Linked DNA regions of Homo sapiens: region 2 is linked to region 1. The links are contacts of gene promoters, found by promoter capture Hi-C in human tissues and cell types (Jung and others, 2019). All regions are on one chromosome and are shown on one strand. The core of a region is centred on a gene start or on the middle of the fragment in contact, and the rest is flanking DNA. Distances in the headings are between cores, read along the strand shown.

Region 1 (5,746 bases), core at 1,549-4,048:
TTGGCATTCTACTGTAAGGAAGTAATTTTCTTTCACCCTTGTTTGTTGGTTGTTTATATTAACATGAATTTATGGATATTTATTGTTTTCAGTGGTTTCTAATCCATTACTAGTCATCATTTATTTGAATACCAAATTGTCCTAGATTTGGCCAGCAGGAGGTTCTTTCAGTTGACTCCTGTATGCTTTTGACATGGCTACATAATTCTTAGAGCATGTCCTTATTTCCTGGTGCCACAACATGTTTCAGCAGTTTTGTTTCACCGGTTTTTAGATGACTATTAATGTCTCTTTGTATGCTGTGTGAGAAAAAAATAATGTACATATGACCCAACTACTTTGGACGGAAATCCATTTTTAAACAGACTGGGCATATCTTGTACTTTAGTTGAAACCATTATAGTGGTGACAAAAATAATAATCTTAAAGGTTCTTTTTTGTGTGTTCAAAAGAAAGAATTATTTCTTTCAGGACAGTGGTCAGTTGAAACAACAACAACAAAAGAGAACTTAAGATCAGGAAACCTGGGTTTGAGTCCCCAATCCAACTGAACAGCTATTTTAGAGAAATTTACACAAGGGTCTCAAAGTTTTCTCATTTGCAAAACGGAGCTGTGAAGGTTCTGTTTGGCAACATATGATAAAGCATTATCAAATATATAGTATTTCCTCGGCCCAGCATGCCATAATAGGTTTCAGACTAGGTATAGTGTTTTTGATTATGTGGATAACTATCTTAAAATCCTTCTGAATGTAGTCGAGGATGTTTATAAGAGTATTTGAAATAAAACTTAGGAGCCATGCAAAAAACCCAGGTCAGTTATCTTCTGTATTAGAAATGATAAGCACAAACTGTATGCTTGTTCAACTGCTTTCCAAAATAAAACATTTTTTGATAGTTTGAAATTGGGTATATAAAGAATATGCAATTGAAATAACTCAACTTTTGGGTGTTTTTGTTTTTGTTTGTGAGATGGAATCCCTGTCGCCCAGGCTGGAGTGCAGTGGTGCAATCTCGGTTCTCACTGCAGTCTCCGCCTCCCAGGTTCAAGCGATTCTCCCGCCTCAGCCTCCCAAGCAGCTTGGACTACAGGTGCACACCATGACACCCAGTTAATTTTTGCATTTTTATTAGAGACAGAGTTTCACCATGTTGATCAGGCTGGTCTCAAACTCCTGGCCTCAAGTAATCTGCCCACCTCAGCTTCCCAAAGTGCTGAGATTACAGGCATGAGCCACCACACTCAGCCAAAATATGAATTTTTTGGATAGTCTTGAAATTTGTATCTTATTTATCTAATCAGTTTGTTTGTTAAATTTCCATTTTATTTTGCACTGGATTAAAAACATCATTATTATAAATATTTTTGCATTGCTTTACAATTTACAAAGCACTTTCACATGCATTCTCTTATTTAATATTCACAGCAATCCTGTGAGTTATATAGAGCAAAATTAGTATCCTCATTTTATAGATGAGGAAACTGAACCTCAGAAGTGTAAGGTCACATTCTGTGTAACAGATGGCGCAGGAACTGTGAGTTGGTGGCTACTGCATTCCCAGTACTGGAGACAAACCTAGCACATCACAACACCCAGTAAATATTTGTTGAATGGATAGATGGAACTCAAAAGCAGGTCTTCTGATTCCAGAATTTCAGGTCATAGGACATAAAATAAAATTCGAATCAACTCATAATAATGTTGAGTGATGCTGATAAACAAGCCTTTCCTGGCAACCAGGAATAATCTACAAATATAAGAAGTCGAAAGATGTTCAGCATTGCTCATATTTAAATACAGACCAATCAAAACAAGGACATGCCATTTTTACCTATCAGATTTAGCAAAGATAACAAAATGGGCTATTCTGGGAACCAGGGAAGATGTGGGAAACAGACACACACTGGTGTGCCGCATGCAAACTCTTGCCACCCACTTGGAGAATGTGTTGCTGTCTTTCAATCTTTCAGATGCACGTAACCTTTTCCCTAACAAGTTCACCTTTAAAAACTGTTGCTACCGACTCCCATATGTACTCAAAGATAGATGCCTAAGAATTTTCACATGCACGTTATTTGCAGTAATAAACAACCAAAAACCATTTAAATGTTAATGAATAGACTAACGATAGTGTAGAATATTGACAGGATGGAAAACTATGCAGCCATTAAAAGGAACAAGGCAAGTCAGTGTGTGCTGATATGGAACAATCTCCAAGATATATTGATAATTGTAAAAAGCAAGATGTCAAAAAGCCAAAGGAAAACCTATACTGACCTGTGTTTGCCTATGCGTAGACTGTCTCTGGTTAGATTCAGAAGACACTATTAACAATTGTTCACTGGCCAAGGGGATTGGGGCAGGAGAGACTTTACACGGGGAACCTTTGGATACTGTTTCACTTTATAATTAAAAGATAATTCGAGAAGATATATCAAGGCCTATTTCTTGGAGGCCAGAGCGCTCCTAACCCCTGAGCCTGCCTCAGCCTCTGGCTCCCACCCCCGCAGCCGCCCCGTCGCCTCTGAGCAGGACGGGGCCCCACTCACCCTTCCCGGCCGCAGACAGAGCGCGGGCGCCCGGGGGAGCCCTGCAGCGGGCAGCTCCGCAGCAGGAGGCCCCGCAGCAGCTGCGCGCCGGGACGGAGCATGACTAGGCCGAGGCCGAGGGCGCAGGCGCCTGCTCCGAGGCCAGCGGGCAGCCTGAGGCCGCGGGGCCGGCGGGGCGGGGGTCGGATCCTCCCCCCGGGCTGGGGGCGGGCTCCTAGACGGCCGCGCGCCCGGGAACCCGGCGCCCACAGAGCCGCGGCACCATGGCACCTGCTGGACGCCCGGGGGCCAAGAAGGTGAGTTTCGTCCCCTCGATCCTCGCGGAGCTCCTGGCCGCTGGGCTGCGAGCGACTCCGTTCACACCCGGCGTCCATCCCTAGCCAAGCCCTGGGGCCTCGGCAAAACACTTGGACGGGATGGCCCTGAGCCTCAATTTTCCCCTGTCACGGGTTGGTTAGCGTTTATGGAGCCCTTACTCGGTGCCTGGCGCTGCACAGAGTGCTGTGCTCAAGTTATCTCCTCATCTTCACAATTATCCCCATTTCACAGGTGAGGAAACTGAGGCTCGGCGAGTCAGGCGACTAGCTCAGGGTCACGGGTCCAGCCCCGCGGGGAGCGAGGATCAGAAGTCTAGCTTTCGGACGCATGTCGCGCACACATTTTCTTCCCTCAACCGACCCTCGCCCGCAGCTCTTTGGGCTAATCCGTCCGGGAACTCTTCGGACTGTCCCCTCGCGTTTTGGAAAAGTCAGCAGCCTGGCCAAGCAGCCTGGCCTTGCGAGTCGCCGGCTGGTCTGAAACTAGTCCTGGGCAAGGACGCCCCCAGAGCTGCGGTGCAGGGTGGAGGGTAGGTGGGATTCGCTAGCACCCCTCAACCTCCTCTCACCCGGTGGTCCCCAGCTCCTGGCCCCTTTCCTGGTCTGGTCACCAGATGTTGGCTTTATGCCCAGCCATTTCTACGTCGAGTATGTGTGGGGGTGGGATGAAGGAGTGACTAAGCAAAATTAGGAAGGGCATGAGCTTGGACGAAAGACATCCCCAGGACCCTTCAGAGACCCCCACCCGCTCCAGCCCTGTCATTCAGAATGGGAGGAAGGGAGGAGGGGCAGTTTATGCGTGGAAATGTGCACCACCGAGCTATTTATACTAAAAAGTTAGAAACGACCAAGATACTCTGCAATACGGGATTCTAAATAAATTAAGGTTCATCTACTTAAGTTATTAGACAGTTAAATAACTTAGTATGAGAACCAGCTAAGTGCCTTGGCAATGTTAAGTTGCAAAAGGAAATATATCACAAACTGATCCCAACCATATACAAATATTTATATACACACTGTAAGGAAGGACACAATAATGGTAATAGTTACACAAGATGTGGAATATTGGTTTAAAAAGCATGTTTTAGGATATTTTTTCAGGTTATAAAAGCAAAATGTGAGCATTGAAAGAATACAGTTAATAAAAATAATCAAAGAACATTGTGCTTTTTTCTCTCAACTTTCTCTAATGCTATGTTCATCTTTACAGTTCATATTTTTAAACGTTTTTAAAATGCCCTGTTTTTGTTCAGTGTCTTTGGGGCCTCTACTGTTACAACACCAAGATTATCACACACTAATCCATGTGAATGTGTACCTGGGAGTTAAGGTGTTAATGGGAAGGAACTAATCTCACCTCTCTCCTCAGCTAGCAGGTACATTTTAAGAATTCATTTAATTGCCACAGACAAGACCTCCAATTAGGTCTTAAATCCAAAAGAGCAGTTCTGCTGGCAAATCTAGGAAAAGGGGAAGTTATTTTAGACAGACTGGGTTTTTCTGATCACCTCCTACTACACAGTGAAGTTGATCCCCACTGAGTATGAATAGAGATGTCTTGAAGCCAGATCTTAAACCCAGAGGTCTTACGTAGTGATATCTGCAAAAAGGGGGCATAAATGCACCCTAGAGCTCGCTGTCAGATGCAAGGCAGGTTCACTGCCAAACTGATGGGGAGGAGGGAATGAAAATATAAATGTACTGCAAAATTAATTTACAGGGTTCCTTATTTTACATGTTCCTGTCTTTATAATTTTACAGTTGACTTTAGATCGTACTAGTATAATGGTGAGGAACAACACACACTGGGGCCTATCGAAGGGTGGAGGGTGGAAGGAGGGAGAGGATCAGGAAAAATAACTAATGGATACTAGGCTTAATACCTGGGTGAGGAAATAACCCATATAGCAAACCTCCAATGATGCACATTTACCTGTGTAACAAACCTGCACATCCTGCACATGTACCCCTGAACTTAAAAGTAAAAAAAAAAAAAAAAAAAAAAACTAAAGAAGGGATCATACTGGTATAGTAATTAATTGAGGTAGTTAGAATAGCAGTGAAGGAAGGGCTAAAAGATGCTCTGATCTCAAATCTTGATAACTTAGTTATTTTGCTAATGGCTATGTAGAAAAATGGCAAATTGGCCGGGCACAGTGGCTCACACCTGTAATCCTAGCACTTTGGGAGGCCGAGGCAGGCAGATCATCTAAGGTCAGGAGTTCGAGACCACACTGGACAACATGGTGAAACCCTGTCTCTACTAAAAAATACAAAATTAGCTGGGCATGGTGGCATGCACCTATAATCCCAGCTACTTGCGAGGCTGAGGCAGGAGAATTGCTTGAACCCTGGAGGTGGAGGTTGCAGTGAGCTGAGATCGCGCTACTGCACTCCAGCCTGGGCGACAAGAGTGAAACTCTGTCTCAAAAAAAAAAAGAAAGAAAAGAAAAGAAAAATGGCAAATTTAAAATGGTGGACAAACATCCAGATAACAAATGAAAATGTCCTCCCTTTACTTGGTTTCATAAAGACACAGTCAAAATATATACTACAATTTTCTTAAAACCTACCTAATTGTCTGCTAAAGAGTAACATTTTTTCTTCTTCAGGACAAAAATTCTAGCATATGCAATACATCTGACATTTTCAAAACAGTCCTGTTTATTTGCTAATTCTTGGCATAGTTTCTTAAGTGTCTACTCATTTTAGTTGTTATATGTGGTGGTAGGGATATAGACCAATAAGATATGTCACCTGCCCCCAAGCCTCTTACAGTCAAACTGAGGTGACAAGTAAGTAACCAGATACTGCTGTACAGGGGGATGCATGAATGAAGGATCTGTGAAGTTAAGCAGGACACAAAAGGGGTATA
Region 2 (5,746 bases), core at 2,910-5,409, 110 kb after region 1:
GTGACAGTGCAAGACTCTGTCTCAAAAAAAAAAAAGAAAGCCCACAATATGAACTCATTCTTTCAGTATCCAGTCCTACAACCTCACCTGGAGTATTTTTAGCCTAAGCCAATCTTTCAATATTTACTTTGTGTATGTAAATAACAATGTTCCTGTAAGTAGTGCTACTTACATTCTAAAAAAGCCTTGATTCTAATTGCCCTAGTGTTGTCATTCACGTCTTGAGGGTTCCAGCTCAAGTTTCCTGCGTGACTGGAGGCACCGCCCTCATTCTATTTGATTCATTATGAATAACACAAGGATAATGATGCCTGTAATTACTGACAGTTTGCCACCTTCTTTGAAGTTCCCAAAAGCAAAATGCTCCAAATGTATGCTCATAATTGTTTATTAGTTGGTCAGTTTACAAAGCCAATTTTTGTTTCCTCAAAATTAAATGGCATTTGTTCATTTTTAAAATTTGAGTGACAATGTTTCTAAGTTAAACCCAGGAGGCTGGGCTCAGTGGCTCATGCCTGTAATCCCAGCACTTTGGGAGGCCGAGGTGGGCAGATCACTTGAGGTCAGGAATTCAAGACCAGCCTGGCCAACATGGCGAAACATCGTCTCTACTAAAAACACAAAAATTAGCCAGGTGTGGTGGTGGGTGCCTGTAATCCCAGCTACACGGGAGGCTGAGGCAGGAGAATCGCTTCAACCCAGGAGACCAGGGGGTTGCAGTGAACCAGGATCGCAACACTGCACTCCAGCCTGGGTGACAGAGCTAGACTCTGTCTCAAAAAAAAAAAAACAAAAAAAAAACAAAACAAACCACAGTGTATATGCATGGATACATAAATTGAAAAGTACCATTATTAATGAAAAGTCAGCATGTAACAACTGTTGTTTTAGGATAATTATTACTAATGTTGAAAATAATCAAATCTCACCAAAGAAAAAGAGATTATTTTCCTTATAAGGCAGATTACGTGTCTCAGTGATAGTGATTCAAAAATAATCATTTCAAACTTCTTATCTTAAGATTTTTGAGGATCCAATGTCTAAAGGTCTCTCTGCTCCCTGGCCTTCTCATTTCCTACTATATTATAGATTAAATCTCCTAACATTGCTTTGAAAACCTTTGTCTGGCCTTCCTTCTGATTCTACTTTCCATTTTTTACATAGTAAATTTATTGACAGTTTGATACCTAAAGCTCCATGTCTATTTTAATCTGTCTCCATAGTAACAAAACCAGTGTTTAGTTACATTGGTTTAGTTACATTAAGAACACTGTAGCCAGGCACAGTGGCTCATGCCTGTAATCCCAGCACTTTGGGAGGTCGAGGCAGGGGGATCAACTGAGGTTGGGTGTTCGAGACCATCCTGACCAACATGGAGAAACCCCGTCTCTACTAAAAATACAAAATTAGCCGGGTGTGGTGGCACATGCCTGTAATCCCAGCTACTAGGGAGGCTGAGACAGGAGAATCTCTTGAACCTGGGAGGCGGAGGTTGCGGTGAGCGGAGATCGTGCCATTGCACTCCAGCCTGGGCAACAAGAGCAAAACTCTGTCTCAAAAAAAAAAACAAAAAAAACAACCACACACACACACACGCACACGCACACACTGTAAAACATTAGACCAAAGACAAAAACATAGCCAAGAAGAAACTGTTTTCTAGCACCTACTCTGAGTCAGTCTGGTACATTTGATCTAGATTCCATCATCAACATTTTTGTAACAGAATTAGCTGTGCCCTTTAAATCACCCCTCTTGGAGAAATGACATAAAGTTGATGGTAAAATTGTGCATTATCCTGAAGGACTGCTCAAGATGTAATGGTAAAGACAAATAATTGCCTAGACTAAAATCCAAAGGGAAGACAAATTATGGGATCAAGAGGAGCTTCCCATGACTTGAGCAAAACTATTACTTCCATCAAGGGAGCAATTCCCCTTCCCAGCAGGAAACTCACCGAAATTTCCCTGAGTCACTTGCGAACAATGTTGTTATAAATGTGACATGAACTCTCATCCACAATCATAATCCCATAATTTTTAATGTTAATTTTAAGCCCCCCATGATTATTTCATGGGCCTACAAGTTATCTGGATAAAGACGACAGACTCCAAATGATATTCAGCCAAGTGACAGTAATCCTGAAGAACCCTGCCTGGGACGGCTGACCACCACTGCATAGTTACTTACATGTTTACATGTCAGTTTCCCCAGAACCTATCATTATAATGTTCAGGTGTTGTAACACATCAAATATTACAACAGGAGAGACTGCCAAAGACTTAACGCATGCTACAAAGACACAATCTCCTTGGCAAATGATTCAGACAATTAAAATGACAATAACATCAACAAAGTTGGTAAACCAAACCTAGTGTTAAAAAAAAAAAAATGAAGCTTTACTGTATGGAAAAAGAAAAGATTCTGGCCTAGAATCACAGAACTCTATACAAAGTTGGAAAGTGCCTTAGAGGTCATCCAGTTCAGCTACCCACTTGATGAAGAAATCTATTCTACAAAGTTCTTGACAAGTGGTTATTCAGCCTCTCCTTGTTTATATCCAGCATCCCAATGCAAACTACCGCCACTGAGCCAAAATTTACTTTGCTGAAACTTGCACTCATTGACTCTGTTTTGTAGAGCTTTTAAATCAATTCTGCCACTCCCTTTACTAGTTTAGTTGGGTTTTTAAAAAATACATTATAATAATAATAGCAAGCATTTATTGAATACTTACTATATGCTAAGTATTGGACTGGGTGTTTTTATATGAACTATCTTATTTATTTAGTGATTATGAGCATAAACTCTGGAACCAGATTGTCTGAGTTAGAATTCCAACTCTGCCATTTATTAGCTGTAATCATTGGACAAGTCATTTAACCTGTCTATGCCTCAGTTCCTCAACAATACAAAATAGGGATAAACATAATAATAAGGTCTACCTAGTAGGATTATGAAAATTAAATGCCAGTGTATGTAAAGTGTTTAGAACAGTGCCTAGCATATGATAAAAACTGTAAAAATGTTGTTGTGCTGCTCATTGTTAGTATGATTATTATTATTTGAGACGGAGTCTTGCTCTGTCACCCAGACTGGAGTGCAGTGGCGCGATCTCAGCTCACTGCAACCCCTGCCTCCAGGGTTCAAGTGGTTCTCCTGCCTCAGCCTCCAGAGTAACTGGGACTAAAGGCATGCACCAGTACGCCTGGCTAATTTTTGTATTTTTAGTGGAGATGGGGTTTCACCACGTTGACCAGGCTGGTCTTGAACTCCTGACCTCAGGTGATCCGCCCGCCTTGGCCTCCCAAAGTGCTGGGATTACAGGCGTGAGCCACCATACCTGGCCTATTATTACTCCCATTTTACAGATAAAAAGATTGAGGTTTAGTAAAAAGGTTAGGCAACTTGAGGATGGGATTTTCAATTATCCTTGTTAGATCACATCTGAAATCAGTTTATTACTCAAAGTGTTTGCTATTTATTGTGCATTTGCTATTTTATTTAGCTTTGCACATTAGTCTATTTTCTTTTTTTTTTCTTCTTTTTTTTCAGACAGGGTCTCACTATATTGCCCAGGCCGGTCTTAAACTCCTGAGCTCAAGTGATCCTCCGGCTTCAAAGCCTCCCAGTAGCTGAGATTACAGGCACAGGCCACCAGGCCTGGCTTTAGTCTATTTTTAAACAGATTCAATTCCAGGAACTCTTTCCAGTGTTTGTCCTCCCGTGAAACAAAACAATCTCGCATTAATCTAGAGATGGTACAGGTATGTTTGGAAAACAATATTGCAAAATATATCAACAATCATAAAATTGTTCAAAGCATTTTTTTTGAGACTGAGTCTTGCTGTGTTGCCTAGGCTTGACTGGACTGCAACAGCTGTTCACAGGCACAATCATTGCACACTACAGCCTCGAGCTCTTGGGCTCAAGCAATCGTCCTGCCTCAGTCGCCCAAGTAGCTGGGACTGCAGTCACACACATCTCCATATCCCACTCTCAAAGTCTTAGATTCAATAATATTTCTTATGAAAAGCTATCCTCCAGAAATAATTTAACAAAATGAGTAAGCTACATATTCCCAAATTTTTCTTATAGCATTACCAGCTGAATTTCCCCAAACTATATTAGAGATAAATATTAGGGGTATAGTGACGTAAATTATAATAAACATAAAAAGAAATTATATAGTTAATTAATCATTATGATACATAAAATCACGGAAAGAAATTTATGATATAATATTAAATAAAAGGCCAGGCACAATGGCTCACATATGTAATCCCAGCATTTTGGGAGGCCAAGGCAGGAGGACTGCTTGAGGCCAGAAGTTCAAGACCTGGGCAACACAGCGAGACCCTATCTCTACCAAAAAAAGCACAAAAATAAGCTGAGTGTGGTACCCCACACCTGTAGTCCTAGCTACTTGAGAGAATGAGGCAGGAGGATCACTTGAGCCCAAAAGTTTGAGGCAGCAGTGAGCTGTGGTGGCACTACTGTACTCCAGCCTGGGCAACAGAGCAAGACACTGTCTCTAAAAAAAAAAAAAAAAATTAAAATTAAAGTTAAAATTTAAAAATATATATATAAGGCCAGGCACGGTGGCTCAAGCCTATAATCCCAGCACTTTGGGAGGCTGAGGTGGGCGGATCATGAGGTCAGGAGTTTGAGACCAGCCTGGCCAACATGGTGAAACCCCATCTCTGCTAAAAATACTAAAAAATTAGCCAGGTGTGTTGGCGTGCACCTGTAATCCCAGCTACTTAGGAGGCTGAGGCAGGAGAATCGCTTGAAAGCCGGCAGGTGGAGGTTGCAGTGAGCCGAGATCATGCCACTGCACTCCAGCCTGGGCAACAGAGCAAGACTCTGTCTCAAAAAAAAAAAAAAAATGTATACACACACACACACACACACACACACACACACACAATATATAATATATATTACATATATTATATATTATATAATATATCACATATATTATATAATATATCACATATATATCACATATATTATATAATATATCACATATATATCACATATATTATATATCACATATATATCACATATATTATATAATATATCACATATATTATATATTACATATATTATATATCACATATATATTATATATTACATATATTATATATTATATTACATATATTATATATTATATTAAATATATTGTATATTATATATAATATATTAAATATATTGTATATTATATATAATATATACACCATATATTATATATTATATATAATATATGGTGTATATATACTATATACATTATATATACACTATATACACTATATATTATATATAATATACTATATATAATATAGTATTATAGTATATAATACTATATATAATATGTATTATAGTATTATATAATATATATACTATATATAATATAGTATATTTATTATATAATACTATATATTATATATAGTATTATATTATATAATACTATATATTATATATAGTATTATATTATATAATATATATTATATATAGTATATATATTAGTATATATACTAAGTATATATACTAGTATATATACTAAGTATATATACTATATATTATATATATAAAAACATACATATAGGCTGGTGCAGTGGCTCACTTGGACAAGTTTTATATATATGTATGTTTATTGTATATATGTGTATATATGTGTATATTATTTTATATACATTTATATATTTATATTCATATATAATAATTATATATATATATAATAGGA

The links. The method cuts DNA at HindIII sites, captures the fragments that hold promoters and counts their contacts. A contact is called where the count stands out against the background at its distance.
Region 2: a contact is called between a fragment that was not itself captured here and the fragment with the promoter of BHMT2 in region 1, in 2 of the 25 tissues and cell types used here (neural progenitor cells and thymus).

What each region holds. Positions count from the first base shown.
Region 1 is chr5:79,066,969-79,072,714 of GRCh38, forward strand. BHMT2 (betaine--homocysteine S-methyltransferase 2) reads left to right here and starts at 2,799. Exons shown (of 8, transcript NM_017614.5): 1 at 2,799-2,847. The coding sequence starts at 2,815. It overlaps DMGDH (dimethylglycine dehydrogenase), which reads right to left and starts at 2,706. Exons shown (of 16, transcript NM_013391.3): 1 at 2,552-2,706. The coding sequence starts at 2,652. The HindIII fragment of the contact is 19,729 bases long and covers 1-5,746 here.
Region 2 is chr5:79,173,723-79,179,468 of GRCh38, forward strand. No RefSeq gene overlaps it. Among named protein-coding and RNA genes, the nearest start is that of JMY, 60 kb to the right of the region's middle. The HindIII fragment of the contact is 8,849 bases long and covers 1-5,746 here.